4 separate regions of the Homo sapiens genome follow, and all the other regions are linked to region 3. The links are contacts of gene promoters, found by promoter capture Hi-C in human tissues and cell types (Jung and others, 2019). All regions are on one chromosome and are shown on one strand. The core of a region is centred on a gene start or on the middle of the fragment in contact, and the rest is flanking DNA. Distances in the headings are between cores, read along the strand shown. Region 1 overlaps SPPL3 (signal peptide peptidase like 3). Region 2 overlaps SPPL3 (signal peptide peptidase like 3). Region 3 holds the start of MSI1 (musashi RNA binding protein 1). Region 4 holds the start of LOC124903035 (a long non-coding RNA gene).

The links. Contacts are between HindIII fragments. The study calls those that stand out against the background at their distance.
Region 1: a contact is called between a fragment that was not itself captured here and the fragment with the promoter of MSI1 in region 3, in 4 of the 25 tissues and cell types used here (dorsolateral prefrontal cortex, lymphoblastoid cells, pancreas and 1 more).
Region 2: a fragment that was not itself captured here is called in contact with the fragment with the promoter of MSI1 in region 3 in 1 of the 25 tissues and cell types used here (spleen).
Region 4: a contact is called between a fragment that was not itself captured here and the fragment with the promoter of MSI1 in region 3, in 1 of the 25 tissues and cell types used here (dorsolateral prefrontal cortex).

Annotation. Positions count from the first base shown.
Region 1 is chr12:120,852,143-120,859,609 of GRCh38, reverse strand. The region is part of intron 1 of SPPL3 (signal peptide peptidase like 3); the gene reads left to right. Among named protein-coding and RNA genes, the nearest start is that of SPPL3, 48 kb to the left of the region's middle. The HindIII fragment of the contact is 8,131 bases long and covers 1,291-7,467 here.
Region 2 is chr12:120,760,970-120,767,624 of GRCh38, reverse strand. SPPL3 (signal peptide peptidase like 3) reads left to right here. Exons shown (of 11, transcript NM_139015.5): 9 at 32-231; 10 at 1,253-1,362; 11 at 2,555-5,115. The coding sequence ends at 2,626. Among named protein-coding and RNA genes, the nearest start is that of ACADS, 38 kb to the right of the region's middle. RefSeq lists a silencer at 4,364-4,527. The HindIII fragment of the contact is 7,096 bases long and covers 1-6,338 here.
Region 3 is chr12:120,363,413-120,370,831 of GRCh38, reverse strand. MSI1 (musashi RNA binding protein 1) reads left to right here and starts at 1,668. Exons shown (of 15, transcript NM_002442.4): 1 at 1,668-1,799; 2 at 1,959-1,999; 3 at 2,559-2,640; 4 at 2,740-2,824; 5 at 6,077-6,118. The coding sequence starts at 1,741. RefSeq lists a silencer at 4,915-5,105. The HindIII fragment of the contact is 19,353 bases long and covers 1-7,419 here.
Region 4 is chr12:120,699,740-120,706,737 of GRCh38, reverse strand. It overlaps MLEC (malectin), which reads right to left. Exons shown (of 5, transcript NM_014730.4): 5 at 4,879-6,998. It overlaps LOC124903035 (a long non-coding RNA gene), which reads left to right and starts at 238. Exons shown (of 2, transcript XR_007063489.1): 1 at 238-4,025; 2 at 4,694-4,927. The HindIII fragment of the contact is 5,890 bases long and covers 1,872-6,998 here.

The DNA.
Region 1 (7,467 bases), core at 4,107-6,606, 490 kb before region 3:
AATTGGGATAATAATGGCTGTAGAGATAAGTTTCAAAAAGAATTATTTGATATCAGTGGTTCCCACAGGATTTGTGTTTCAAGTACTGTTTGAAAAAACAAAAACTTTTTTGTCAAAGTAATAATGCACACTGCTGTATACTGTCACAATTCTTAACTTCAGTTATTGCTTGAAAAGACGATTTACATAGATTCAGTCATCTTTGTCTTATAAGGAAGGTATGTAAGCATTTTTAATTTTTTCTCTCATAGCACAGTACAGGTTGAGCATCTGATATCACAAAATCCAAAATTATCCAAAATGCAGAACTTTTTGAGCTCCAACATGATGCTGAAAGGAAAAGCTCATTGTAGCATTTTGGATTTTGGATTTTTGGATTTGCAGTGTTCAACCAGTAAGTATAATACAAATATTCTGAAACCCCCACGCCCCCCACCCCAAAAAAGAGGGAGATCTGAAACACTTCTGGTCTCAAGCATTTTGGATGAAGAACACTTAATCTGTATGTTTTCTTTATAGAAAAAAAATTAAAAGTTACCCATAGAGAGATTTTCTTACTATGCCTTCAAGAAATGCAATGAGGCAGAACAAAATTGAAAACATAACCATCTCTTATAAGGACCCTAGAGTGACTAAATAAGTAAATACTGATAGATTATAAAAAGAAACTGATTCGTAAAAAGTTAAACAAATTTACCATGTGACCCTGCAGTTTCACTTCATAGTTTGGCTGCTTATAAATTCTCGGCTCACATTTCGTTTTCTCTATTATGTTCTTCCATAGAGCGTTGCTGTCAGAGACTAGTGATATTCTCTTTAGTTATTGTTTTTAGTTTTTGTTATGCTTCCTTGCTTTGATTTTCTTCTTTGGGGACTCCTATTGTATACATTTTGGATCTTCTTTGCCTGTTTTTCTATAGATTGCCGCTCTCTAATCTTTTTATCCCTTTCTTAACTTTTCCATCCTATTTACTTTCTAGTTTCTTTAAGGCATTATCTGTTACCCGTTGGTTGTTCATTCTTGTGTTTCTTTTAGTTTAGTGTTCATTTCTGAAATTTCTGAGTTTTATCACCCCTTTTGAGTTGTTCTAATTCAGATTTATGTTGCCTCGTCATATGATGTCATTTTCTTTGTTTTTTTTTTTGTTTTCTTGAGATGGAGTCTTGTTTTTGTTACCCAGGCTGGAGTGCAATGTTGCGATCTTGGCTCACTGCAACCTCCGCTTCCCGGGTTCAAGCGTCCTGCCTCAGCCTCTTGAGTAGCTGGGATTACAGGCGCCCGCCATCACACCTGGCTAAGTTTTGTATTTTTAAAGATAGGGTTTCACCATGTTGGCCAGGCTGATCTTGAACTTCTGACCACCTCGGCCTCCCAAAGTACTGGAATTACAGGCGTGAGCCACAGTGCCCAGCCATGATGTCATTTTCTTAAAAAATTTAAAATTTCAAAATAATATTGTGTTACAGTTTTTACCTGTTTTAAAGGCATGTTTTTTTTCTGGTATGTTTTTATTGTTTTTACAGATGCTCTCTGCCTCCCTTTCTCTCTTTTTAAAATAATGACTTTGAGATAAAACCACAGTGCTTTCCTGTTGTTCATTTTTAATGAAAATTAATTTTCTTTCTTTTTAAATATATATTAAGTTCCAGGATACATGTGCAGGACGTGCAGGTTTGCTACATAGGCAAAGATGTGCCATGGTAGTTTGCTGCACCTGTCAACCCATCACCGAGGTATTAAGCCCCGCATGCATTAGCTGTTTATCCTGATGCTCTCCTTCCACCCACCCCTGTGACAGGCTCTGGTGTGTGTTGTTCCCCTCCCTGTGTCCATGTGTTCTCATTGTTCAGTTCCCGCTTATGAGTGAGAACATGTGATATTTGGTTTTCTGTTCCTGTGTTAGTTTGCTGAGGATGATGGCTTCCAGCTCCATCCATGTCCCTGAAAAGGACATGATCTAATTTCTTTTTATGGCTGCATAGTAGTGTATATGTACCACATTTTCTTTATCCAGTCTAGCATTGATGGGCATTCGGGTTGATTCCATGTCTTTGCTATTATGAATAGTGCTGCAATAAACAAACACATGCATGTGTCTTTATAATAGAATGATTTATATTCCTTTGGATATGTACCCAGTAATGGGATTGCTGGGTCAAATGGTATTTCTGCTTCTAGATTCTTGAGGAATCGCCACAGTGTCTTCCACAATGGTTGAACTAATTTACATTCCCACCAACAGTGTAAAAGCATTCCTGTTTCTCCACAGCCTCGCCAGCATCTGTTGTTTCTTGACTGTTTAATAATCGCCATTCTGACTGGTGTGAGATGGTATCACATTGTGGTTTTGATTTGCAGGAAATTAATTTTCATAAACTGAGAGAGAGAAGTGGGCAGGAAGACTTTAGCTTTCTGGCTCTAGAGCTCCCTCTTTTGACTTTTCTGGTGGAGGGGAAGAGGGAATCCTAGCACTTTCAGACATCTGGTCATTACTCTTCCTGGTTCTTTATTTGGGCCACCTTCTTCCTTTTCTTCTCCTGTCTCTGTTCTGCTGGATTCTGTTCCCAGTAGTTTCTCCTCAGTACAAGACTTTGTCCTGAAAGAGAGCTTCAGATGGTTAGCTTTTAGTTTAGAGGGTCCCTATCACTCCATCCCCTTGTACAGGCCATAAGTTGGAATGTACAGAGCTCCTTTAAAGTTCAACTGCTATTCCTAGTTCAGCTCACCTTGCTTGCCAGTACCTGTTGTCTCATTTGGGGTTTTCCTAATTTCAGATTCATCAAATACCCTGTTGCTTCCCTTTGCTGCTTCTCACACAGATGGCAATTGCACACCAGTCTTTAGCAGTCAGTAGTTTGTCCCCATCTGCTTGTCTTTTGGGTTTTGTGAGGCTACCTGATCACTTAGCTTTGTTGTAGGTGCAGATTTTCAGTTTTGCATCCAGATTGCTCAATCTGTTTTTATGGGAAAATTCAGGAGGATTCAAACCAACTATGCCCTGAATGCTGCCGTCGTTCCAGAATCTTGTCCCATAGTTAAATTTTTATTTTCGTTTTTTGAGACGGAGTCTCGCTCTGTCTCAAAAAAAAAAAAAAAAAAAAAAAAGATGAAAATTGTTCATCTCCACACCAGTGGCCAGGGGGCTCAGTGAGTAGCAAGGGTTCATGTTCTGTGTATTCTTCTGCTCTGCCCTCCAGCATGTTAACCTCACCTCTAGGCTTGCTGCGCTGCTGTTTGCAGGACAACTGCAACATTTCCGAGACATCACATCCTCAAGACCACAAAAAAAGAACCTTCTCTTCTTTGTGTTTCTTTTTTTTTTTTCTTTCAGATTAAGGGAAATCTTTTCCTTCTGTCTCATTGGCCAGAATTGCATCATAAGCCTAAGCCACAAGGGGACTGGAATCTGCATTTAGGTTTGTGCTGTCCAGCAAGGTAGCCACTGGCCACATGGGGCTATTTAAATTTAAGTTCATTAAAATTAAGTACAACTACAGATTAAGTTCCTTAGTTGCACTCACTGCATTTCAAGTGCTCAGTAGTCCCATGTGGCTAGTGGCTACCTGATTGGACAGTGCTGTAATATTACTAGAATGTTTTCATGATCACAGAGTTCTGTTGAACAGTGCTGGCTTACATTAATCACGATTCACTCCCTGGGCCTTTTCAGAATTGCATTTAGTCTTGAGATTTTCTCAGGTGCATTCCAGAAAGCATGTTCATGGTGAACAGCCACAGAATCTGACAATGAGACCACCCCATGTGGCTCTGGGGCTTCAAGTACACCCCCATTCATTTGCATGAGTGAAATAATTTCTCTGTGTAGGAGAAACAAAAAGGTTGTTTTACTGCCAGAAAAAGTACTGAACACATTTCTGAAGTACTGTTTTTCTTTTCTTTTCTTTTTTTTTTTTGAGATGGAGTCTTGCTCAGCTGCCCAGGCTGGAGTGCAGTGGTGCAGTGGCACGATCTCAGCTCACTGTAACCACCATCTCCCGGGTTCAAGCGATTCTCCCGTCTCAGCCTCCCAAGTAGCTGGGATTACAGGCAACTGCCGTCATGCCTGGCCAGTTTTTGTATTTTAGTAGATACGGGGTTTCACCATGTTGGCCAGGCTGGTCTTGAACTCGTGACCTCATGTGACCTGCCTGCCTCGGCCTCCCAAAGTGCTAGGATTACAGGCCTGAGCCACAGCGCCTGGCCTGTTTTTCTTGAGACCAGTCATTTTATTTGAAAATTAAGCTTTGAGGTCATAGTGCTAAATAGCCAGGGCCTATGATTTACTTGACAAAAATTGTTTTTTATACATTTGTCAGTTTCTAATTGGGTAGTTGGAAAATGCCAGGAAACTATTATTTCTGTTCATTTTTTGTGCTATATGGAATCTGTTATACTGAGGGGATGTACTTTATAAGTTATTAGTACAAGGATTAATCACTGATAGTCCCCTTCTCTCGTCATTCTTGCACTCTGTGGGGTCTAGTGATCCATCCATACAAGGAGAAGAAACGGTGGCTGGAGGGATAATGAGTTCCCTCTCCTCTTTCCTACACACTAGAAGTAGGGTCAGGAAAGCCCTGCATGCTTCTTCCTTCCCTGTCCCTTCCCTGCCCCTTGTGGAGGGTCATCATGAAACAGTTACATGCAGGTGCTATAAAAATCCTGGCGTGTTCTTTGGTCCAAATAGTGATCTTGAATGTCATAAATATAAGAATATTTTCATTGCACTGTTTTTCCTCAGTTGAGCAGGTTTTGATTATAACAAAACAAATGCCCCGCTTTGGAAACACTTGGTAATGACTGTTATTTAAAAGGAGTAGGAATAATAGGAAGTTAGCTTCTTCTTGTTGACCTTTGGAAAGGTTTGTAACTTCATGATGCTTCCTTAGACTTTGGGGCATTCAGGCTGACTGAATTTTAGACCCAATTGACAGTCATTTTTGCTTGAGTCTTTTTGAAAATCTTTTTAGTATTATTAAAATGGTTTCTTGCCTTAATAAAATATACAGAATATATAATTTAACATGTATTTGGCTTTGATAGCACCTCAGGCTCTTGTTCATCAATTATTGTTTTAGTGATTTATAGGTGTAGCTGTTGCAAAAGGAAGGTGGTCACACAGCACATAGCTGCCATGACTTAAAAAGAAAAAAGACCTGTGCTGTTGGCTTGCTTACTTCTCCATTGTATGTTGGCAAGACTAGATTTACTTAGCATCAGACTACTAGAGTATGTATATAGATACATATAATTCAACACTTATCACCAAAACAGTTTCTTGAGCATTCTAAAATTGTTTTAGGGGTGGACCATGTTTACCTCCCACTGAATGTGGAGAATTTTTTAGGTGCTTCATGGTAAACCCTTGGCTTTTCTGATTTCCTTGGGTCAGTTTCCTCTGCCCACCTCACAGGAGGCTGCCACATGTGTTCTTACATTTACTCCTTGAAGAGCCGTCAGTAAAGGGTACATTGATAACTTGCACAGTCATGAGTAATTCAGTTTGAGTAGCTAGGTTTATCCTGTTTGGGGAACTGACTGTCACTGTGGGGTTTTCTTCTCCCTCTGGCCTTTTTTTTCCCCGTGTGTGTGTGTGTGTGTGTGTGTGTGTGTGTGTGTGTGTGTATGTGTGCGTGTGTGTGGTGGTGGTGGTGTTTGTTTTCATGTGGTTTTGGGTTTGGGTTTTGTTGTTGTTTTTTGCTATTCCAAATACAAATTCATCTCACTTGCTTTCATAATATATTCAGTAGTTTTTCTGAATTGCTATGAAAATGTGAATTTTATCTAAAACTGATTTTTAAGGTATGGTCTTTGGACTAGTAGTAGCATCTGTATTGCCTGGGAACTTTTTAGAAATTTATGAATGCTTGGCTCTGCCCCAGATCTGCTGAACCAGAAACTCTGGGGTAGGTACAGCGATCTGTGTTTTAACAAGTCCTCCAGGTGATTTGGATACACCATCAGCTTTGAGAATCACTGGTCTAGAAGATCCATGAATTTAATCATTTTGAACAAATGCTGAAACTTCCTTTCCATGTGCTTTGGTGTGCATCATATCTTCTTCTTAGTCTAAAATTTATATCAAAAGAATTAGGAATACTATGGTTTGTTACAGCTTCTTGTTTTGCTACTATTGTGTACATTTTTAGAAGTTACTAAGGAAAAAATTTTACGTTTGGTGTCAGATGTTTGTCCATGTGACATTTGAATGAGTAAGTGCAATTCCTTTGGGCAGATAAAAATGTCAGTGTACTTTATTTGTCTAACAGGAATTCTCTGCTTGTAGATGTAATATAATATAGTTCTGTAGACTTAGAAATCAAATATTTACCATATACATTTTCCTTCATTTGCTTGCCTTAGGAAAAAAAGTGGATGAGCAGATAAGATGATGGTAAAGAATATATCTTTAGGCCGGGCGTAGTGGCTCATGCCTGTAATCCCAGCACTTTGGGAGGCTGAGGCGGGCGGATCACCTGAGGTCAGGAGTTCAAGACCAGCCTGGCCAACACAGTCAAACCCTGTCTCCACTAAAAATACAAAAAAATTAGCCAGGCATGGTGGCGGGTGCCTGTAATCCCAGCTACTCGGGAGGCTGAGGCAGGAGAATCGCTTGAACCCAAGAGGTGGAGGTTGCAGTAAGCCGAGAATGCACCACTGCACTCCAGCCTGGGCGACAAGAGTGAAAATCCATCTTAAAAAATATATATATATATATGAAATATATATGATATGTATATATTATATGAAATATGTATTTCATATATCATATGTATATATTATATGAAATATATATTTCATATATGTATATATGATATATGAAATATATTTTATATATAATATACATAGATATAATATATGAAATATATTATATGTATATTATATATAAAATATATTTCATATATGTAAAATATGTATATTATATATGCATATATTTCATATATGTAAAATATGTATATTATATATGCATATATTTCATATATGTAAAATATGTATATTATATATGCATATATTTCATATATGTAAAATATGTATATTATATATGCATATATTTCATATATGTAAAATATGTATATTATATATGCATATATTTCATATATGTAAAATATGTATATTATATATGCATATATTTCATATATGTAAAATATGTATATTATATATACATATATTTCATATGTAAAATATGTATATTATATATGCATATATTTCATATATGTAAAATATGTATATTATATATACATATATTTCATATATGTAAAATATGTATATATAAATTAATATATATGATTATATAAATATAATAAAGATATATATCTTTAATAGAAAATGTCAAATTGGCATGTAACTATGTGCGATGACAAACTGGGAGTTTCCTAAATTATTTGTCTGAGCCCATTATATGGAGCTTCAGCTATGCACTTTGCATAACAGAGAGCACACTTTCGTCAGAGCAGGAGTGTACAAGC
Region 2 (6,655 bases), core at 1,541-4,040, 400 kb before region 3:
GACGTCACTAACCTGTGAAACTGCATTCCAGCTCCACTGGCAGCCACTTCTCCATGTTGGGCATCGGAGACATCGTTATGCCTGGTCTCCTACTATGCTTTGTCCTTCGCTATGACAACTACAAAAAGCAAGCCAGTGGGGACTCCTGTGGGGCCCCTGGACCTGCCAACATCTCCGGGCGCATGCAGAAGGTCTCCTACTTTCACTGCACCCTCATCGGATACTTTGTAGGTAAGAGAACCAGAGAGACTGCAGATGATCCTCGCTCTGGCTGTCCTCCAACCTTTGGAATTAAATCAGGTCTTCTAGCTACAGTTACTGGATGGAAGGAGAGCAGGAATTCTGGGTGCTGTAATAGACAGCCTGGCCCGTGAGATGCTAAGTGTTTTGTGTACTGGATAGGCCAGTTCCCTCTCCAGCTGTGTATCTGAAGAACGTTGTAGGAAAAGCAGGTCAGTCCTCAAAGCCAAGGACACACAGCACACAGTGCAGTGGATTAGTCTGTGCTTAAATCTTCCTCTAGAGTTGAATGACTGTCGTATTTATTTCCTACTTTATTCAATAGATACTTACTTACATTCATTAGTTCTACATTTCTGCCACTCTGACCTAGGCCAAGTTTTGTAGCCAGCTCATGTGTAGGCAGACAGGAGATGATTGTGATGGGGCTGGGAAAAGCAGTAACCTGCCCGCACATGCAACTGCTCCCGCACAGTGACTGGAAAGGAGCTTTTGCACTCCGTACGTCCTCCTCAACCCCAGCACTGTCCTCGTCCCACAGCAGTTCATTCACATGGGTTCATTTCAGTCCACAAACTCAGAGGGGCAAGGCAAGTGGCATTATCCCCATTAGACAGATGAGCAAGCTGAGGCTCAGAGAGGTGGAAGGTCTGAACTACATTTATGTTAGCTATTGTGAGTAGCAGAGTTGGAACTTGAACCCAGGTCTTCTGCCTCCCAAGTCCAGCATCACAGGAGACAGAGGCACACTTGGAGCTGGAAGGAGGGTTTGAACCCAGGAACCTGAGCAAGGAGTGAGACTTGGGTCAGTCATGTGTCCTTGGAGTTGTAGGTGTTTTTTAAAGCTGTGCTGATCCACATTTCTTCAACTGCCCAAGCTGGGCATTTCACACCCCAACCATAGAATGGACGACAGCACATTAGATCTGTACAGTTGCAGGACTTTGCCCAGCAGCAGCCAGGTGACACGGGTTCCCTCTCGTGTCTCACAGATGCCTCTCTCTCCTCACAGGCCTGCTCACTGCTACTGTGGCGTCTCGCATTCACCGGGCCGCCCAGCCCGCCCTTCTCTATTTGGTGCCATTTACTTTATTGCCACTCCTCACGATGGCCTATTTAAAGGTGAGAGCAGCAGTTATAAACCTGTGAAAGCAATAACTTGGATTGGCCTGTGCCTCGGTTTGCACTCTCCTCGCTGGAGGTGATTCTGCTTAAGCCCCTGAGTGAGCTTGTGATCTCGACTGTGTGTGTGTGTGTGTGTGTGTGTGTGTGTGTGTGTGTGTGCGCGCGCGCGCTACCCTGGCGTTAGCAAACGCTTCCAGATTCGTGCAGCCACTGACAGAAAATGCTGATGAGCTAGACCACTACACCACCTGGTCGAGGAATAACTAATTGAAAGCCCCAGAGCCCAGCTGAGGGTACTTCCTGCTTCTGTTCAAAGCAGTGCCCTCCTGCCACCTAACAGCTTAACACTACGTTAAAGTTTGGGAATAATTAAGATTGAATAGTGTTGAGGCAGCATATGATAAAACCAGAGTTCAAGAGCACATTATTTCCCAGATATCTATTCTCAGCCCCGTTTTACAGATGAGGAAGCAGATACAGAGGTCAACTTACTTGCCCAGCTCACTTGACTCACTACCTCTAGAGAGTTGATAAAAGCCCTTTTCTTGCTCAGGGAGCCTAAAAGCACCCCTTCTAGGGAGTCCTCCTAAAAATAGTGGGTTATTTTTGAATGGGTAAGATTTAAATGCTCTTTGGTTTCCCACAGAAGCAATCTGATCTCAGATCAAGCATCAGAAAGGGGCCAGGGGCATGGTGGCTCACGCCTGTAACCCCCGCACCTTGGGAGGCTGAGGCAGGCGGGTTAAGAGTTCAGGACCAGCCTGGCCAATATGGTGAAACCCTGTCTCTACTAAAAACACAAAAATGAACTGGGCATGGTGGTGAGTGCCTGTAATCCCAGCTACTCAGGAAGCTGAGGCAAGAGAATCGCTTGAACCCAGGAGTCGGAGGTTGCAGTGAGCTGAGATCTCGCCACTGCACTCACTCCAGCCTAGGTGACAGAGTGAGAACCCATCTCAAAAAAAAAAAATATCAGAAAGGGGCCAAGCGCAGCAGCTCATGCCTGTAATCCTAGCACTTTGGAAGGTCGAGGCAGGAGAATTGCCCGAGCCCAGGAGTTTGAGACCAGCCTGGCCAATATATAGGAAGACTTCATACCTGGAAAAAAAATTTTTTTTTTTTAAAGAATCAGACAGCTGTGTGTGCCTCATGTTTAAATCTGTAACTTAGAAAGTCCCTTGTTTCCCAGGGCGACCTCCGGCGGATGTGGTCTGAGCCTTTCCACTCCAAGTCCAGCAGCTCCCGATTCCTGGAAGTATGATGGATCACGTGGAAAGTGACCAGATGGCCGTCATAGTCCTTTTCTCTCAACTCATGGTTTGTTTCCTCTTAGAGCTGGCCTGGTACTCAGAAATGTACCTGTGTTTAAGGAACTGCCGTGTGACTGGATTTGGCATTTAAAGGGAGCTCGTTTGCAGGAGAGAGGTGCTGGAGCCCTGTTTGGTTCCTTCTCTTCCTGCGGATGTAGAGGTGGGGCCCCTTCCAAGAGGGACAGGCCTCTCCCCAGCGCGCCTTCCTCCCACGTTTTTATGGATCTGCACCAGACTGTTACCTTCTGGGGGAGATGGAGATTTGACTGTTTAAAAACTGAAAACAGCGAGGAGTCTTTCTAGAACTTTTGAACACTAAAAGGATGAAAAAAATTAGCAAACCGAAGTTTCTTCAATGACCCCTCGAGAACTTTGGGACCAGTTTCCTATAGGGGACTCAGTTTCAGAGAACTGAGACAGAAGCTCTTCTGTCGTTATATTCTTCTTTCCTTTTTTTGGATTTATTAAATATTTTCTGTGGTGTGAAGTGACTTATTAAATCCACAGACATTGAGTGACTTCTTACAACATCCACATAAGAATTTGTTGTAATGAGTTCATGTCCACCCAGATGTTGTGTTGGCAGTGAACAAGGGCACGGTTTTTATACATACGTACATATATATATATAAACACACACATAGATATATATGAATAAACAAAAATGAAATCCTGCTAAGATCACGCTGTGTAGCTGACAGGGGCTTGCTGTCGTTTTGAGCATGTCGAGCAGTTTACTGTGGCTTCCTTGTATATGGATAAGCTGCTGTCCTTCCCCTTCACAACTGACCCCGCAGTTACAAACTAGTATAGCATTTGTGCTGATTGATGATAGACTCATGGACTTCAGGAGCCCTTACTTGGTTTTGATCAGTGTAGCAAATTAGGGATGAAGAGTTCAAACCTTTTGGCCCTTTCTTTCTTTTCTAGGCTTCTCCCTCGCAGGGTGTTCCGTAGTTTCTTCTCGAGCCAATGCATGTATTATAGCAGCAGGTGTCTTTGTGCTTTCTCATCATAGTAACGTACTACTTGTAAATACATTTTTCTATTTTCTATTTTTTTGTATTTTTTTTTTTGACATTTTGTTTCATTGGTGTGCTGTATATTTTCCATGCCCTCACTCCTTTAAGAAAAAAAAAAAGGAAAAAAGCAACACAATCCTGTCCTTGCTGTTGTGATTATAGTCTTGGTTTACCTGTGGTGACAACCGGGTGTTGGGGACACATGTCAAATGCCCCTCTGAGATGGGCCCTAAATTCCAGTAACTGGGGAAAGAACCAGCTGCTGTGTCCTGAGAGCCTGGCCCTGTGCTGTGGTCTCTGCTGCAAGCCCAGATTTCTGGGAGTAACTAGTGTTAGGTCTGCTGACCTTTACCTAAGCAGCCCCTGCCTGGTAAGAAGGTGCCCATTGTTCAGAGGCAAAGAGAAGCCTGCGGTTGGCATGAGGATGCCTGACAACAAAGGCTGGAGAAGGGCCCTGAGTTCCAGCCTCTCCCCAAGGGTCCCCGCCCCAGTGGCTGCCTCTGTCTTGACCTGTGTAATGAATTAGTGTGCTGTGTCACTGTGGCTTGAAGTCACTGTGGATCGAGCTCACAGGGGGCACCCATCCTGTTGTCAACAGAGTCTGAAGCAGTCAGGGTGTTGGATTCCTCTGTTGTTGTCATCAATTCCTGCTGAGGGGTTTCTGGGGTTTTGTTTTTAATAAATGACTCCTTTGTAGCCTTTGTCACATAATCTTCACTTTGGTTGTTGGTACCAAACAGAGCTCCCAGCCATCTCCTCCCTGTTCTGGAAGACTGATGGGAAGACTCTGTCTGTCCCCAGACCTGGTCATCTGCAGCTCTGGCCCAGTCATAGATACATCAAAGAACTGAAGCTTCTGCTGTCCACAGAACTCAAAACTGCCTCTGCATTGGGTGAAGACTAAAAATCCACTTGCGGACTCTCCCTTCCTTCCTTCTCAGCCCTCGAGGATGCATATAGCTAATTAAGCAGGCCCAGAGACAGAGAGGGGGGCTCCAAAATGACTCGGATTAAGGGCAAGTGCCAGTGATGGGTAGAAATAACGTTATCCTTCATGCCTGTAATCCCAGCACTTTGGGAGGCCGAGGCAGGTGGATCACAAGGTTGGGAGCTCGAGACCAGCCTGGCCAACATGGTGAAACCCCGTCTCTACTAAAAACACAAAAATTAGCTGGGCATGGTGGCAGGCGCCTGTAATCCCAGCTATTTGGGAGGCTGAGGCAGAAGAATCGCTTGAACCTGGAAGGCGGAGGTTGCAGTGAGCAGAGATTGCGCCACTGCACTCAAGTCTGGGCGACAGGGTGAGACTCCATCTCAAAAAAAAAAAAAAAAAGGAAATGTTATCCTGGCAGTGGGTCATTTTAATTTTTCTGTCTTTGTTTTCATAAGAAAATTAAATTCCAGACAGAAGGAACGTCGTTATTTTGTCATTCTCACTTCTGTGCAGGTTTTGGGGGGAAATACCCACACAGGGCTGTGAATGCACCCTGGATTCCAGTTGCTAATCTTCAAAGCCCTTAAAACACTCCCTTAAAACTTTGGCAGAGAAACAGCAAATACTCTACTCGTCTCGGAGGGTTGAGTGGGTGGCTGCAGTTAAAGCACACATTAGACTTCCCTTCCAGTGCTCGTTTGCTCCCCGCTGCCTGATACACTTAGGTCCGCCTCTTATTCTGTTTTCTCAAATACCATGGTTTAGGGGTTTTCTAGGAAGTCTGCTGCATTAGGCATGGCATGCTCATGAAATTTCAGCAGATTCCTTCCTCACTGATCTGAAGTCCTTTTTCCTCACAAAGAGACTGTGTGTTACTAGAACTCCCGCTTTTTAATAACTCTTTTTTCTAGTTTGAGCTAATGAAGATATGACAGTAAAGTCTGTCCAAAGCCTAGTGTGTTCCATTGCTGTTATTACAGTGCATACGCTTTCTGAATGTGACAGTGACAGCTCCCCGCATAGGAACGGTTCGGTGGCTTGGGACTAAGCTACTGTCTGAATTACTTTTGTAGCAGGCTCACAGGCCTTGGGTAAACAGGTAAGTTAGGTCACCCACAAGAAAAACAAAAGTACTCGTTCTCTGTGAGGGTGGAGGGGAAGGGAGTTCCATTTTGCCAATCAAGTGTTAAAAATAGAACCTGCTGTGTCTGCTTAGCAGCTCTCACGTTACTGCTCACCAGATCCCATGTTGTGTGTACGTTTCTGTTTTGTAAAGCCTAGCGTTTACGTCAGAGCCTGGGAATGCAGCACTCGTGTCTATACATGGGAGTACATGCCTTAGGGACATCATTTATACAACCCCCTTCTCTACAGAGCTATGTCAGCGGTACAGGCTCAGAAGGAAGCCATCTCGGTCTCTTTCTGGTCTTCAGTGCACAGTGGCCAGGACAGCCTCCCCCACTTCACCGAATCACATTTCTTCAGCAGTTTCCAACAGTGAAATCATTTCTAGGACAATGGCTGCTAACACGTGTCAGCTGAAGCACTGCAGATCGAGTCATCCAACTCAAGCTTCTTCCTCTTATTGGAAGGGATAAACCAGGTAAGACTTTTTAATCCAGAAATTATTCCTATTCCCTGCAATGTATAGGGTGCTTTCTATCTGCAAAACTCTAAACTCAAATTTCTGCAGGTTCAGATTCCAACTGTCTCATGCGCAGAGACTCTCCCATCACAAAATTCTTCCCGCTCCAGCCATCATCTGTTTCCTCCTCAGCCTTTCCCTTGAAATCCAGAGCCCTTTCCTGTCCGTTAGAGGCAATCAGTCATGTTTCAGTGAAGCTTGAGGCACTGGGCCCCCCAGTGAACAAAACCAGACATCCTGACCCCCTACTCCTGCGGTCTGTGCAGGGCTTGCTTTAGCATGCTTGGCTTGTGGGGAGGGGGTGTGGCAGCCATTCCCACACAAGGTCACGCAGGGATGCCACAGTGCGTTCAAGAGTAGAATCCACAGCCTTCTCTCC
Region 3 (7,419 bases), core at 419-2,918:
TTCAGGATGGAATGTGAAGGTGAACAGCAAAGGGCTTGTCAACATGGGTTGTCACTGGATTACACCGGATGGATTAAGGTAGGGATGGGGGAAGGAGTAGAAGGTGAGTTGGGAGGGAGGGGCTTGTGTGGCACTGAGACCCCCAGCAGGGATGGGGAGAAGGGGTGTTGGCCACCTAAGCTTCCTGGTTTGATCCTTTTTTGGCTGGTTTCAGCTGGGGAAGTGAAGGGTCCTAAGGCTTGGATATGGAGAGGTGGGAATATGGAGAGGTGGGGATATGGAGAGGCGGGGATAAGGAGAGGTGGGGATAAGGAGAGTGGCCCCGCAGCTCCCCTGGTGAACCAGAATACTTTCTCAGGGTTGTTCCCAGGCTGGAGGGAGGGAATTTTAGGGGTACGTAAGGTGACTCCAAGGAGCCTTGGGTGCAAGTACTGGGGGATCCCAGAGACCCAGAAGATGGGGGTAGAAAGGAAGGTGTTTGCCTTCACGGGGAGTAGCCTCAAAATAAGAGGGACTGAGGGAAGTCATTCCAAATGCAGTGGGTAGGTAGTTTAGGCTCTTCCAATGGGATGGGGTGGAGCTTAGACCTCTGCAAAAGAAGGGGGTCATTCGGAGGGGACGGTGCACAGCTGAGGCGTTGGGCTCCTAAACTGGAAACAGGAGGCTCTAAGAGGCACTGCCTTTTCCTCCAGCCTCGGTGTGGTGGGGGTGGTGAGTGTCTGGAACCGGGTTTCCCGAATCAGGACAGGAGTCTGAATGGATCTCACAAAAACCGGCCAGGGAGGGAGAGAACCAGGGGAGACTCCTCACACCGGGAGGTGGGGGTGGCGGCAAACTGAGAACCCGGGCTTGGGGCGCGGGATTTTCTCAACAGACCATAGGGTCCACTAATGTGGACGGCAGGGATTTGGGGAAACTAAGGGGGACTCTCACTTTGGACACCAAGGGCTGAGGACGGATTGGGGAAGAGGATACGGTTTCTACTGGGGTGCTGATGGAGGTTCCCCACTCGGGACGCGAGGCACTGAGTGGGTCCCCCAAACTGGATATGGGATCCTGGGAACGGAGCGAGGGCTCTAAATTAGAGCCCTGGGGTGGGGGTGGGGGGCTGTAAATTAGGTTGGGAGGAAACTGGGGGCTCTGAGGGCGGCTTCTCGCTCCGACTGGGGAAATGGAGCATGTGGGGACTGGGGAGCACTAGGGCTATCTCCCGCCCGACCCGAGGAGATTGGGGTTCTCTTCAATTCTGGACAGCAGGGACCTGAGAGGGAAGACCGGGGGGGTTCCCGATCCGGAACCGAGCTACCTTGAAGGCACCGGGAAGCGCTTCATTCCGGGAGGGCGTTCCCGCGGCCGGGCCCCCGCGCCGGGGTGGGTGGGGGGTGCGGCCGCGCCCTGGTCCCGGCCCGCACCGGGATTCGGGGGTCTCGCTCGGCCCCGGAGACCCAGGAGCCCCGCGGGAAGGGGGTCCCGGCGCCGCCGCCTCCGCGGGCGCCCGGGCTCGCGGGCGAGCGCGGGGCTTTATGCGCGCAGGGCGGCGGGGGGAGGAGCCGGCAGGTCGGCCCCCGGCGGGCCCTCCCCTCGGCCGTCCCCGCCCGCCCGCCCGAGCGGGGTCGGGGGAGGGGGCAGCATGGCCTGTCCGTCCGGCCCCCTTCGCCGCGCTCCTCATCTGCCCCGCGCCGAGCGCCGCCGCCGCCGCCGCCGCCGCCGCTCCGCTGCCCGCGCCGCCCGCGGCTCCCGATGGAGACTGACGCGCCCCAGCCCGGCCTCGCCTCCCCGGACTCGCCGCACGACCCCTGGTACGGCCCGGCCCGGCCTGCTTGGCCCGCGCCCGCCCCGGCCCCGCCAACATGGCCGATCCGGGTCCGGCCGGGCCTCCCCGGAGCCCGGGCCCGCGCCCCCTGCGCCCTGGCGCCCGGCGCTCACGCGGGCCCTTTGTGTCTCTCCTCCTCCCGCAGCAAGATGTTCATCGGGGGACTCAGTTGGCAGACTACGCAGGGTGAGCGAGCCCGGGAGCGCCCGCCGGTCCGGCAGGGCACCCCGGACCCCCCGGCGCCCCGGACCCGGACACCCCAGCCCGGCCCTGCGCCCTGCTGACCCCGGGCGCCCTCGCGCCCTCTTTCGCGCCCCGCCCGGAGACCCCGAGAGCGCAGGGCGATCCGCGAGCGCACCCGGCCCAGCGGGTGGAGGGGAGCAGATGAGGGGTTCAGGGGGTATCGGGGGGTGGGCTGGGCCCCCGGGACCCGCCGGCGGCAGCGCCAACTCCGCTCGCACCTGCGGCTCAAACTTTTGTGAGGCTGCTCCCGGAGCGGCGGGAACCCGGCCGGAGCCGTCCCCCTTCCAGCCCAGCTCGGCCCTCGGCTTCCCGGGGCCCCGGTGGGCGCCAGGAGGCTCAGCGGGAACGGGGCGAGGGCGGTGGGGGGCGGCGGCAGTGGAGAACGCGCGGGCAGCTTGGCGCGGGGGCGGCCGGGCCGCTCCGGGGTCACCGGGGGCAAAGGACGGGGGGGGGGGAAGGGCGCGGGGCCCGGGCTGGTCCGAAGGCGGGTGTGTGGTTACAGAAGGGCTGCGCGAATACTTCGGCCAGTTCGGGGAGGTGAAGGAGTGTCTGGTGATGCGGGACCCCCTGACCAAGAGATCCAGGTGAGCCCCTCACCCCCTCCTCCTGCTCCCGGCTCGCCCCCCTCCACCCGCCACTCACTGCCTTGTAACCATCTGCCTCTCCCTCACTACGGCGCGCAGGGGTTTCGGCTTCGTCACTTTCATGGACCAGGCGGGGGTGGATAAAGTGCTGGCGCAATCGCGGCACGAGCTCGACTCCAAAACAGTGAGTGGCCCTCGGGGCTTCGGGGGTCCTTTGGGAGAGGGAGGCTGCCGGAGGAGAGGGTCAGGACTCTCCCCAGGGGACAGCTGGACGGGGTCCATGAGGAAGGAGGGAGTTTTTCTGAGTAAGAGGGCTGCCATGCTCTGAAACTTTGTCACTAGAGTTGGGGGGGAGAGGGAGGAGAAAAATCCCTGGCCTGCCATGAGATGCTACATCCCCCCTCCCCTAGTCCTGGTGAGGGGAGAGGCAGCCGCCACCCTCTCCCTAGAAGTACTAATCATGATGCCTCAGAGCAGAGCTTGGGGTGGGGCTAGGTCCCTCCCCCAGCCCAAATTGGGTGAGTCAGGGTAGCACTGACCCACCCGGTGGCTTCTGTGAACTCTAACTAGTATTTGGCTCTGCGACACCCCCTCTTCATCCAGACCAATGGCAAAGCATCCCTTGAAGCCCCCTCCCTCTCTCCTTCCCTCCTCCCCCGACTTTTGGTCAATGAGCTCCTTGCTTTGTGTGGAAGACAGGGACCTGCTTTGCCCACGGAGGGGATTTATGAGAAAGGCTCTAGCTTGCCTGGAAACGACCCTTCGGAAGACTAGATCTTAGGAGAAGCTGCTTGGTTGGCATTCAAACTCATGGAACATTTTGCTGTTGTCCCACAGCTCCTTCGTGTCTTAGACCCTGCAGGGGGCGCTGGCTCCAGGGCAGATGGAAAAGTAGAAAAGTCAGAGGAGGGGGTTACTCCCATGTGATGGGGGTGTCTGTCTGCTGGGGGCAGGGATAGTGTGGATCTCTTCTCTCCATGCTTCCCTGCTGTCCCCCAGCCTTGGGCCTCTCTGCTTGGGTCAGTCCCTGGCTCCCGTTTACCTGCAACAATAGCTGCTTGTGCCCAAGAATTTGTCAAATTACCGCCTGTCCCCAGCTCCTGTTATCTCTGCCCAGTGGCTCCCGCTCCCGCTCGCAGTAATGAGCAAATGAGGCCAGGCCTCAACTTTGCCGGCTCTGAAAGGATCTTCTTGGCGCAGCCTGAGTGACCCAAGCCTGGAAATGGAGAGACAGTGGCCTATTGTTTTTGGTGATTATCTGCCATCAAGCTGCCTGTTCTGCTACCATCCCCTGTCCTCAGAATGCACTGATGGCTTCTGCAGTGCTGAGGAAGCTGAGATTTAGGGGCTGGGGGATGGAGGAGTGGAAGATTGATAAAGGGGAAGAGAATGAGGGAGGAAGGAGGGTGAGATGAGCATCCTTAGGAGATGGGGCTGAAAAGGGCCAGGGCTTTGTCTGTGTTTGGCGTCCTCCAGCCTGGGAAAGGGGGTGGGAGGGAGGTTTACTGTGGGGAGTCTATTTTGAGCTCTGACTTTCACCTTTTATTTACTTGTTGGGTTTTATTTATGTTGCCAGCTGTGAGTCACAGTGGAGGTGGGGTGTGTCAGGGATGGGGTGTGCGTGGGTCTGTGGGATCGTGGCTTGGGTACCATCTCCCCATCGGGGTCTGTGTAGGGGGACTGTGTGTGGTGCGCTGGTGGCTGGGGCGGCTGCTTCTGGGAGAAAGAGAAGGATGGACATGTCCGTGGAGGTGTGGAATTGAAACTTCAGGCGGGAGAAATGGGCAGTTGTGATTTTTCCCTGGAGCCCAGTGGGACTTGGCAGGAGAGGAGGCATTGCCCCAGTGTGGATTTTGGAGGTTCCATCTCTGTGGACAGATTCCAGTGGGGGAGCCTGTAGGAGGCTAGTTCCTGGTCTGTGCCATTCAGAGAGAAGCCAGAGCCAGCTGCCTAGAACGAGGCTGAGTTTTGAACAGAAGGAACTTTGGGAAAAGATAGATCTTCCCTGCGATTGGCTGGTGAACTTATGAATGACGTCCACCCATGTGGGTGGCAAAAAGCTCTGGCCTGACCTGGCCCTGTAGGCCCTGCATGGATCACAGCGTCTCATGCCCTGTCTTTTGCTGTTTGTCGTACAGCTATAGTACCCAGGAGTACACCCAGATGCATCTTGATTTTTCCCTCTGGTTGTTCACAGCCAAGGGCAAAGGTGGCCTGCTGGTAATAGCACCTTTGTTTGTGCAATGAAGGGCAGTTCACAAAGGGCCGCTTTCACCCGCGTTATCTCATCTGATTCCCCGCAGCTGCCCCTGGGAAAAGCGGGTGTGATTGTCCCCACTTTGCAGATGAAGGAACTGAGGCTCACAGAGTTCGAGTGCATTACCAAGATCACAGGCTTGGCAAGAGGCCCAGAGTTTCTAGGTCAAGTCCCATGCCCTTTCACGTCACCGAAGACTGCACTCTGCCTTGCCCCAAGCCTAGCTGCATTATCAAGGAGCTGTTTGCTCACAGCCTCAAGGAGAGCTATTTGATGTTGATAGTACTGCGAAAACAGAACTGAGCCTACTCCTGATGGTTATGAACTCTCAGCTTGTAGCCTTTTGCAGACAAAGAGTATTCCCATTTGCAGGGTTTCCAAAGCCTGAATTGCATACCTTACCTAGATAGGTCATCTGTGTGAAGTCAGTTACGCAAGGAAGGCCCTCGATTTACCTGATACTTGAAGGAATAAGACGGCTTACATTTTTTTTGTTTTTGTTTTTGCTGTGAGCTAGACACCATGCCAAATGCTTTGTATGCATTATCTCCAATAATCTGCTGATGACCCTTTGAGGTGGGTGTTATTATTTGCCCATTTTGCAGGTGAACTTGACCCTGACGTTCAAAGAGGGGAAATAACTTGTCCATGGTCTCACAGCTGGGAAGCAGTGCAAATGGGATTTGAACCCAGCAGTGGGACGTTAGGGTCTAAATGCTTAACTGGCTGGGCGTGGTGACTCGTGCCTGTAATCCCGGGACTTTGGAAGGCTGAGGCGGGCGGCTCACCTGAGGTCAGGAGTTTGAAACCAGTCTGGCCAACATGGTGAAACCCCGTCTCTACTAAAAATACAAAAATTAGCTGGGTGTGGTGGTGCGCACCTGTAATCCCAGCTACTAGGGAGGCTGAGGCAGGAGAATCACTTGAACCCGAGAGGCAGAGGTTGCAGTGAGCTGAGATCGTGCCACTGCACTCCAGCCTGGGTGATAGAGTGAGACTCTGTCTGAAGAAAAAATAAAAATAAATGCTTAACCACTATTCTCTCCTCCTAGAGGCTTTTGTGATTTCTGTCACCTTTGTGTCCTGGGAGGAGAGAGGTCCTGAGGGCTGAAGGCTGTGTGGTCGCTCTTCTAAAAATGCGATAACCAAGACCCCTTCTACCTCTCCCTTTTCTTGTAGATTGACCCTAAGGTGGCCTTCCCTCGGCGAGCACAGCCCAAGGTAGGTGTGTCTATGTCTGGGAGGAGCTCTCTTACTATGGGCAATGCTGGGCAGTGATTTTCCCAGTATTTCCTGCTCTGGAAGATGCTTCTGGAACCTCTGCTTGGAGTGTTTGTGGAATGGGCTGGGCTGGGAAGAGGGGATTCTTGACGTCCTTGCTCTGTGGCCTGAAGACACTATATGTCTTTCCACGTGAGCTCTGGGGTGGACTGGAGAGGGGCTTGTGTGTGTTGGGAGAAAGGGGAGCTACTCAGAGGATTCATCGTCCTGTATTTGAACCCAGTAGAGTTTGGAGCCTGAGTCTAATTCCAACATCATAGACCACAGCCTTGATGTCCAGGCCTCTGGAAGTGAAATACAGGACAGACTTAGACCCTAAGGCCGCGCTACAGGCAGGCTAGGGAGCTACCCTTGGATCCCCCCAGTCACCCTTTGCAGAGGCAGAGGGGACCACAGACTCTGTCACCTGTTGTCTTTCAGTTTAGATGTCTGTGGCTGCTTTCTCAATGCTCTCTTACCCTGCTGCTCTGGCGAGTTCTCCCAGTGAGAGGGTCAAGGTGCGCAGAAAATGGATTTCTGAGCAGTTGAGTGATACAACACTCAAAAAACTTTTGGTGCAGGGCAGGGGCCTAAGAGTCTATTCTAGGCCTCAGGGCAACTAGCCAGGTCTTCCTTTTGAAGCAATTGAATATAGAGGACAGAAGGAGAGACTGATTGCGGAACATGGGGTCAGGACCCCTGAGTTTACTGACTTATCATGGGTCCTAGGACGAGGTCCCTCTCTAGGAGAGTTCGGTTTCCTCCTTTGCCAGGTGGAACTAGAGCTCTTTAAGATTCCGGGCCAGTGAATTCCATCAAGTCCCCCAACTCCTGCCAGGGCTGAAGGAGAGGAAGAGTTTTGGGAGACAGGAAAGGGGCATCTCTGGAAGGGTCCAGTAGAGGGCCTGAAAGCAATTATGGAGCAGGTATTCGAAGGAAGCCGCACCAGGGAGCACATGGTTGGAACTGGGTTAATTCCATTAAGCAGTTTGGTGACAGAAGGTGCTTTAGTGTTAGGATGGGGCTGGGAATTGCCGCGGATTAGCCATGCGCTCCTGGGGTAATTAGGACCATGTGTTCTTCCTAAAACAGGGCTGGGGCCACAGGGCTGCCAGAGGTTGTGTTGGGAGGAGGCTGATGAGGAAAATGTCGGCACTGAGTTCAGGGAGACTCTGTGATGGACCTTGGGGGGTCTCCCAGGAGGGCCAGTGAGGTCTTAGTGTTAGGCTGTGGGTCTGGGTCACTGGCCCGCCCCCTTCCCT
Region 4 (6,998 bases), core at 3,567-6,066, 330 kb before region 3:
TGAGACAGAGTCTCATTCTGTCGCCCAGGCTGGAGTACAGTGGCACAATCTTGGCTCACTGCAACCTCCGCCTCCCAGGTTCAAGCGATTCTCCTGCCTCAGCCTCCCAAGTAGCTGGGATTACAGGTGCCCACCACCATACCTAGCTAATTTTTGTATTTTTAGTAGAGATGGGGTTTCACCATGTTGGTCAGGCTGGCCTTGAACTGACCTCAGGCGATCCGCCTGCCTCAGCCTCCCAAAGTGCTGGGATTACAGGCGTGAGCCACCATGCCTGGCATTTTTTTTTTTTTTTAAGTAAATACTGCCATATGAGTCAGAGCTTGTACTCTCTCTGGGCACTACCTATGAATTTTGGTTAAAAGGAATAGACTGGCTGGGCACAGTGGCTCATGCGTGTAATACCAACACTTTGGGAGGCCAAAGCCAGAGGATTGCTTGAGGCCAGAAGTTCGAGGGGTGAGAGTGAGACTGTAAGAAAGGACGGGGGGAAAGGAAGGAAACGAGAAAAGAAAGAAGGAAATGAAGGAAAGGGAAAGGGAAGGAAATATATATAATTTCATTTTTTAAAGGGGTAGGAAAAATTAGGGGTGTAACCGCCAATCTGCCTTTCCACATCAAATTTTTTGAGGTGTGGGGAAAGGCTCTTTTAAAATGTCTTTTGAAAATTACATATACTAACACTTTATTTGGGGGAAGAAGGAAAATAGAGGACTACTGCATTAAATAGTAATCCTGACACCAAAAGCAGAGGGCCAGCCTTCCTTTCCCCCCAGCTCAGGGCTGACTCTCTCCCGCTGGCTGTTTTCCTCCCTGTAAGAGGTGTGAGAGTGGCTGTTTTCCAGGGCAGTCCCAGAGTAGCCAGGCAGTCTGCCTTCAAATCAGGCCAGGCAGGTGGGGCCCAGAGCTGGTGTAACCAAGGTAAGCAAGACATCATCAGCTGGCATTTTTCTGCCAAGACTGAAAGTTCAGTCCTGCTTTCTGCTGCCTCCCCAGATGGCATGCACTGAATTAGCAAATCATGGCTGGGATTGCAGGCATGGCTTGTGGTCTGGGACTAAGAGCTAGTAATTTCCTTAGTACCAAGTCACTCTACTATCTGGCTGAGGGCTGTTTGTTTGTTTGTTTGTTTGTTTGTTTTTAAGAAGGAGTCTTGCTCTGTTGCCAGGGTGGAGTGCAACGGCATGATCTTGGCTCACTGCAACCTCTGCCTCCCATGTTCAAGTGATTCTCCAGCCTCAGCCTCCCAAGTAGCTGGGATTACAGGTGCCCACCACCACGCCTGGCTAATTTTATATTCTTAGTAGAGACGAGGTTTCACTTTGTTGGCCAGGCTGATCTCGAACTCCTGACCTCAGGTGATCCACTTGCCTCAGCCTTCCAAAGTGCTGGGATTACAGGTGTGAGCTACTGCGCTTAGCCAGAGGGCTGTTTTTAAAAAGCATTATTTATTATTTATATCCTACCTGTTTCCAAAAGAGATTTCTGGCATATTCCAAAGTCACAGCACAAGATTGGTGAGTAAAAATTCATATAGCCTCATGGAGGACAGTACTTTCAAATTTTTAAATGCATATATTGTTTGATCCAGTAATTCCTTAAAGGAATTCCCTAAAGAAACACCTGCACATACGCACAAAGATATATGCATAAGCATGTTCACTGCAGCAGTTTGTACTGGCAAAAAATGAGCAGTATCTTAATGTTCATCTACAGGGGATTGGTAAAATCAATTACAATCTAACCATAAGATACTGTACAGCCCTTGAGTGAGGAAAATCTCTATGTACTGACCCATCTATATGAACTACCTCTCTAAGACATATTAAGTAAAAATGGCACAGAATGATATGTATGGTATATTCCCACTTGTTTAAAAAGACTCTGTGTGTGTGTGTGTGTGTATATATATATATATGTAAATACATATATATGTAAATACATTTACACACATATATGTAAATACATTTACATATATATTACATATATATAAATACATATATACACATATATATATGTAAATACATTTAAAATGAAAGATACACACCAGAATGTCCTCTGTATTATCCTTTAGGGATTAGAGGGATAGGGAAGAAAATGATTTTTCAGGCCAGGTATGGTGGCTCACACCTCTGATCCCAGCACTTTGGGAGGCCGAGGTGGGCGGATCACTTGAGTCCAAGAGTTTGAGACCAGCCTGGGCAACATGGCAAAATCCTGTCTTTACAAAAAGTATAAAAATTAGCTGGGTGTGGTGGCTGCACACTGTAGTAGTCCCAGCTACTCAGGAGGCTGAGGTGGGAGGATCGCTTGAGCCTGGGAGGTCAAGGCTGCAGTGAGCCAAGATCTTGCCACTGCACACCAGCCTGGGTGACAGAGCAAAACCCGGCCTCAAAAAGAGGAAAAAAAAAAAGAAAAAGAAAAGAAAATGATTTTTCACATTTTGCACTCCTAACACTTTTTTAAGAATTTATTTCTGTATATATTTATAGATCTTTATATCACCAAGTCTTAAAAGTTACTTTTTCAGAGAAATAATAAAACCTCCATGTAATCATAGATTCATCAGTTATCAATACTCAAAGGTTCCTCTTTAAAACTAGTATATCATGGCACTAAAAGCACAGATTTTGGGGTCAAACAGCATTGGGTTCCAGTCTTTGCTCTGCCAATTACCAGCTATGTGACTCTGGCCAGGTCGTTTCTCTCCTGAGGCCTTTGTGCCTTCATTTATAAGTCAGGCTAGTCACAGGTCTTTCCTAGGATTGTTATGAAGAGACACAAAACGGCAAGAAAAAGCACTGTACTGGTGCCAGGAAGAGTGTCCCATGAATGGTCACTATGACAATATACACAAGTGGCCTCTTTCTCCACGCCCCCTCTGTTGAGGGCAGGCACACAGGGCAGGCGCATGGGGCAGGGAGAAGCCATGGATCCAGGTGAGAGAGTGCAGTGACAAAGCAAGTGGAGTTATTTCGTACTAATGTTAAGTGGTTAGGAACAAACAAAACTGAGACTCTTGGGCCAGGGTGCTGCAGCGAGGTGCTTGTGGCCTTAGGTTGTTGGAGAGCAGAGGCAAGCCCGCTCCAGGACCTCCATGCTCCGCCTCCTTTCTGCCTTGACCCCTCACCACTGCGATAGCAATGAGCTTTCCAGTAAGTACTAGAAAAACTCATCTCTCTTCCTTTATGGGGGATGGGGGGTACTAAGTATGGAGAAAGGTCTCACCGGCTCCAGCCAACCGGGAGCCTGATTTCCTTAGTAAGATTAAGATCTGGACCCACAGAGTGGTCCAACCCAACCCCGGTACTTGGCCCAAGATCTTCTGTCAGACAATTTCCCTCCCTGTAACTCCCTAGAGCAGGAGTTCTTCAGGTCTCTTCCCCATTTGGCAGCTCATGCAAAGCTACTTGAAATAGTAACAACGAAATCTGAATTAGGAAAGAACTCCAGTTATGGGTGGGCTCAGCCTAAGAAAGAGGCTCTGTGGGCCTCCTGGCTTGTTTGGGCCCTGAGAACAGACTCCATCAACAATGGCCTCACTCTTGGGGCTGCACACTGAATTCTGCCCTTCAAGGGATAACTGAGGGAGGTAGGCCAAACTCCTGTTCCTCCACCTCCACCCCTCCCTACCCCTGCAAGCCAGCAGTCTCCATTCCCACTCGGAGAAATCCCGCAGGTAGGCTCTGGAGCCATGCCACCCAGCACCATGAAGAAATGGATGGCAGCAGAGGGTAATGATGGAGAGCAGGAGTCCTGGTTTAAAACCCCAGCTCCGCCTTTTGTTGGTTGTGCTACCTTGTGCAAGTCACTTCATCTCTTAAAGGGGAATAGCAACTGGTTTGTTGAAGATAAAAGAGAGATAACATGTGGAAAATGCTGGGCATTGTGCCCAGCCCATTTCAAGGACTCAGTAATGGACAGCTGTAATTATCTTTACAGCTTTAAAGAGCTTGGGGCTTTGATGGCAAACAGACTGAATTTGAACCCTGGCTTGACCAGACCATTTACTACATTAGTCTGGGGTATGTTACTGAACTTTTTTGAGCTTCAGTGTTTGTGTGTGTGTGTGTATGTGTGTGTCTGTGTGTGTGTGTCTGTGTCTGGGTCACCCAGGCTGGAGTGCAATGGCGAAATCTCAGCTCACTGCAGCACTGACCTCCTGGGCTCAAGTAATCCTCCCACCTCAGCCTCCTAAGTAGCTGCGACTACAGGCATGCACCACCATGCCTGGCTAATTTTTGTATTTTTAGTAGAGACAGGGTTTCGCCATGTTGCCCAGGCTGGTCTTGAACTCCTGGGCTCAAGCAATCTGCTGGCCTCAGCCTCCCAAAGTGCTAGGATAACAGGCGTTAAGCCACCATGCCTGGCTCAACGATCCTCACCTGTAAAACGTGGCTTATAAATTATAGGAAAAAAAATCCCTCCTGCATTCTGCTCTTCCTAATGTGTAATCAACAATGACAAAACACCAGAAAAGGAGCAAGCAGAGAAAAATCTCCTATGGCTTAGGTTAGCTTAGCTTGTCCGTGGGCTATCACAGAGGCTAAGGGAATGGTGAGGAGAGGCAGCAATAGGCCCAGTGTGCCTTAAGAGTGGGACAGTCTGTGCCTAGTTGTTCCAGTGAAAGTGAAAACAAATTTTTTGTCCTTAAATGCGCTGCTAGTTGAAATGACCAGGAAGGGTTTTACAGAATGATTCCCCTAAGCAAACATCCCAGAGAGAAGAAAAGCAAAAGACACACAGCTAAATGGACAACAGTTCCCAGCCTCGTCACAGGAGAACTCTTTGGAGCCAAGTGAACCCCTGGGTCTCCTTTTTCCCACCCCATCACTTCAGCGCTTTGAGATCAAGTTCGAACTCAGTCCCAACACAGAGTGTCACTGCAAATTGTTTATTAAAACACAAAGCAATGGACAGTGAAAAACATCCTGATTTTGTACTTTTTGGTGGGAGTGGGGTGGGACATGGAAGGGGTAGGGTCAGATGGAGACAGCCCAGAAGGAAAGCCAGCTCTATCCACCCCTACAGCTTCCCCGGCCAACCAGGTTCAAAGCCCATCAGTTATATCTCACTGTGCCGCTGTCAATGCATGTTGTGGCTGCTGGCAAAGAGTTGGTTTGGCCTCCACAGAGAGAGGATGGGAAACTAGGGTAGAAGCTACAAGGGCTAAGAACTTGATGCTTTTTCTCCAGTACTTGGTACAGAATAGAGCAGCCAGGCCCAATGTGGAAGGGTGGGCTTGGTTTCCTGACAAGCCAGGTTAGACCAATAATGGTTGAAGAGGCTGCCCTGGGCTCAGAATGGGCAGCTGGTCCTTGCCTGGGAGAACTTTGTGGAAGGAAAAGGTAAGATTCCTTAAGTCCAAGGAGAGAACCAATCCAGGGTCAAATTTCTTTTCATTCCCTGGATCACAACACACCAGGGAAGAGAGGAGTCAAGAATGTCTCTCCCTGCCAGTGCTCCCCTCCTACCTCGCAACTCGGCTCTCCCTTCCCGACAGTTGTCCTTTGAAAGGACGGAAAGCGCACTTCAGTTTGTTGTTGTTTTTCCTCATACTGAAATAAAGCACTGAAGCTCAAAATAGAGGTGAGAATGGAGTTCTGCTTTCCCCAGTGCTATGTGCCCCCATCTCACAAGACTGCCTGGATGCAAGAGGTGCCAAGGCCCTCTCTGCCAACTCAAACAGGCACTACTGTTTCCTTGGCTGCCAGCACAATCCTGGCTCCTTGTGTTTATACTCCTGGGGGAACCTGTCCCAAGAGATCCATCCTGCTCTTTTCCTGCCAACCCAGCTAGTCCCCAAATCACCTGCTCTTATCAAGATAATCTGGCCCCCCATAGCAGGCTAGACAAAAGGCAGCTGGAAAGGACAGGCCAGACTGGAAGCAAGCCACACAGATGCAAAGAAGAAACCTGCCCTCGCTAGGCAGCTGATCTACTGGTACCAATCTAGTCTCATAACAAAATGAGGAAATCTAGCCCTCTTGCCCCAGAGAGATTTAAATACAGAGAGTCTTAGTTTGGACTGAAAGAGAAAAATTGCTCTGATCTTTCTAAAGCTTGAACATTAAGGCTTCTTTGCAATTTTCTTAGAGCTCTTTGATCGTTAATTATATCTTTCCATCGAAGAGAAGCAGATTTCTTCTGAGATTTCTGAACAGTTCCTGGGTGTTTCCGGTTCTGCTTCCGTGTACTATCACTTTGCCTTGCCTCAGTCTCTCCTTCCTCCGGGGCCACAGAAGGAGAAAGCCCAAAGCATACCCATCCTGCCCTTTAAAAAAAAAAAGAAAGAAAGATTCGTCTCTCACTTTGGAAAGCTCACCTACTCTCCTAGGTCCTTCTGGAGGGGCATGGAGGACAATATTCCATGTTGCCATTTGATGCCACTAAGGATCCCCAAGGCAAGAAGACACTTGAATTATGCCAGAGTAGGCCAGCAAAGGGGAGGGAAGGGACAGGGAAGCAGCCCCATGGCAGGGACTATAGGACCCCTGCCCAAACCTGAATCTAGAGGGAATGCCCCACCCTGGCTCAGAGCAGGAGAGGAAAAGGCACTGTGCTGACCGGGGTGGGTCCTTCCCCAACCCCTAGGGAGGGCAGAGAACCTGCTGATTCTTTCCCTGGGTTTCCCAAGGTGAGCCAATTTCTAGGGAAAGGGATTTTAGCACTAGGAAAAGGAAAATACTGCTGCTGTTTTCTGAAGTTCTCAGCTGAGATTTTAGAAACCATATCCAGGCCTTTCCAGGAGAGGCTAGAGGCAGGAGAAGAAGGAAGAGAAATTCCTTAAAACAGAAGCTTCTCCCAAGAGATAAGGAAGTCAAAACCACAGTTCTAAAGCTGGACCAAACAGTTCCCAGGCACAGAAAGGGGGAGGTAAACCTAACTCAAACTGTGCCCTCTCATCAAAGCCTAAATGCCCGCTAACGTGATCCCAGTAGCTCTTAGGCAGGGAGGGCAAGAGAACACGAACACGCTCTCAAACCAACAGGTGGCCC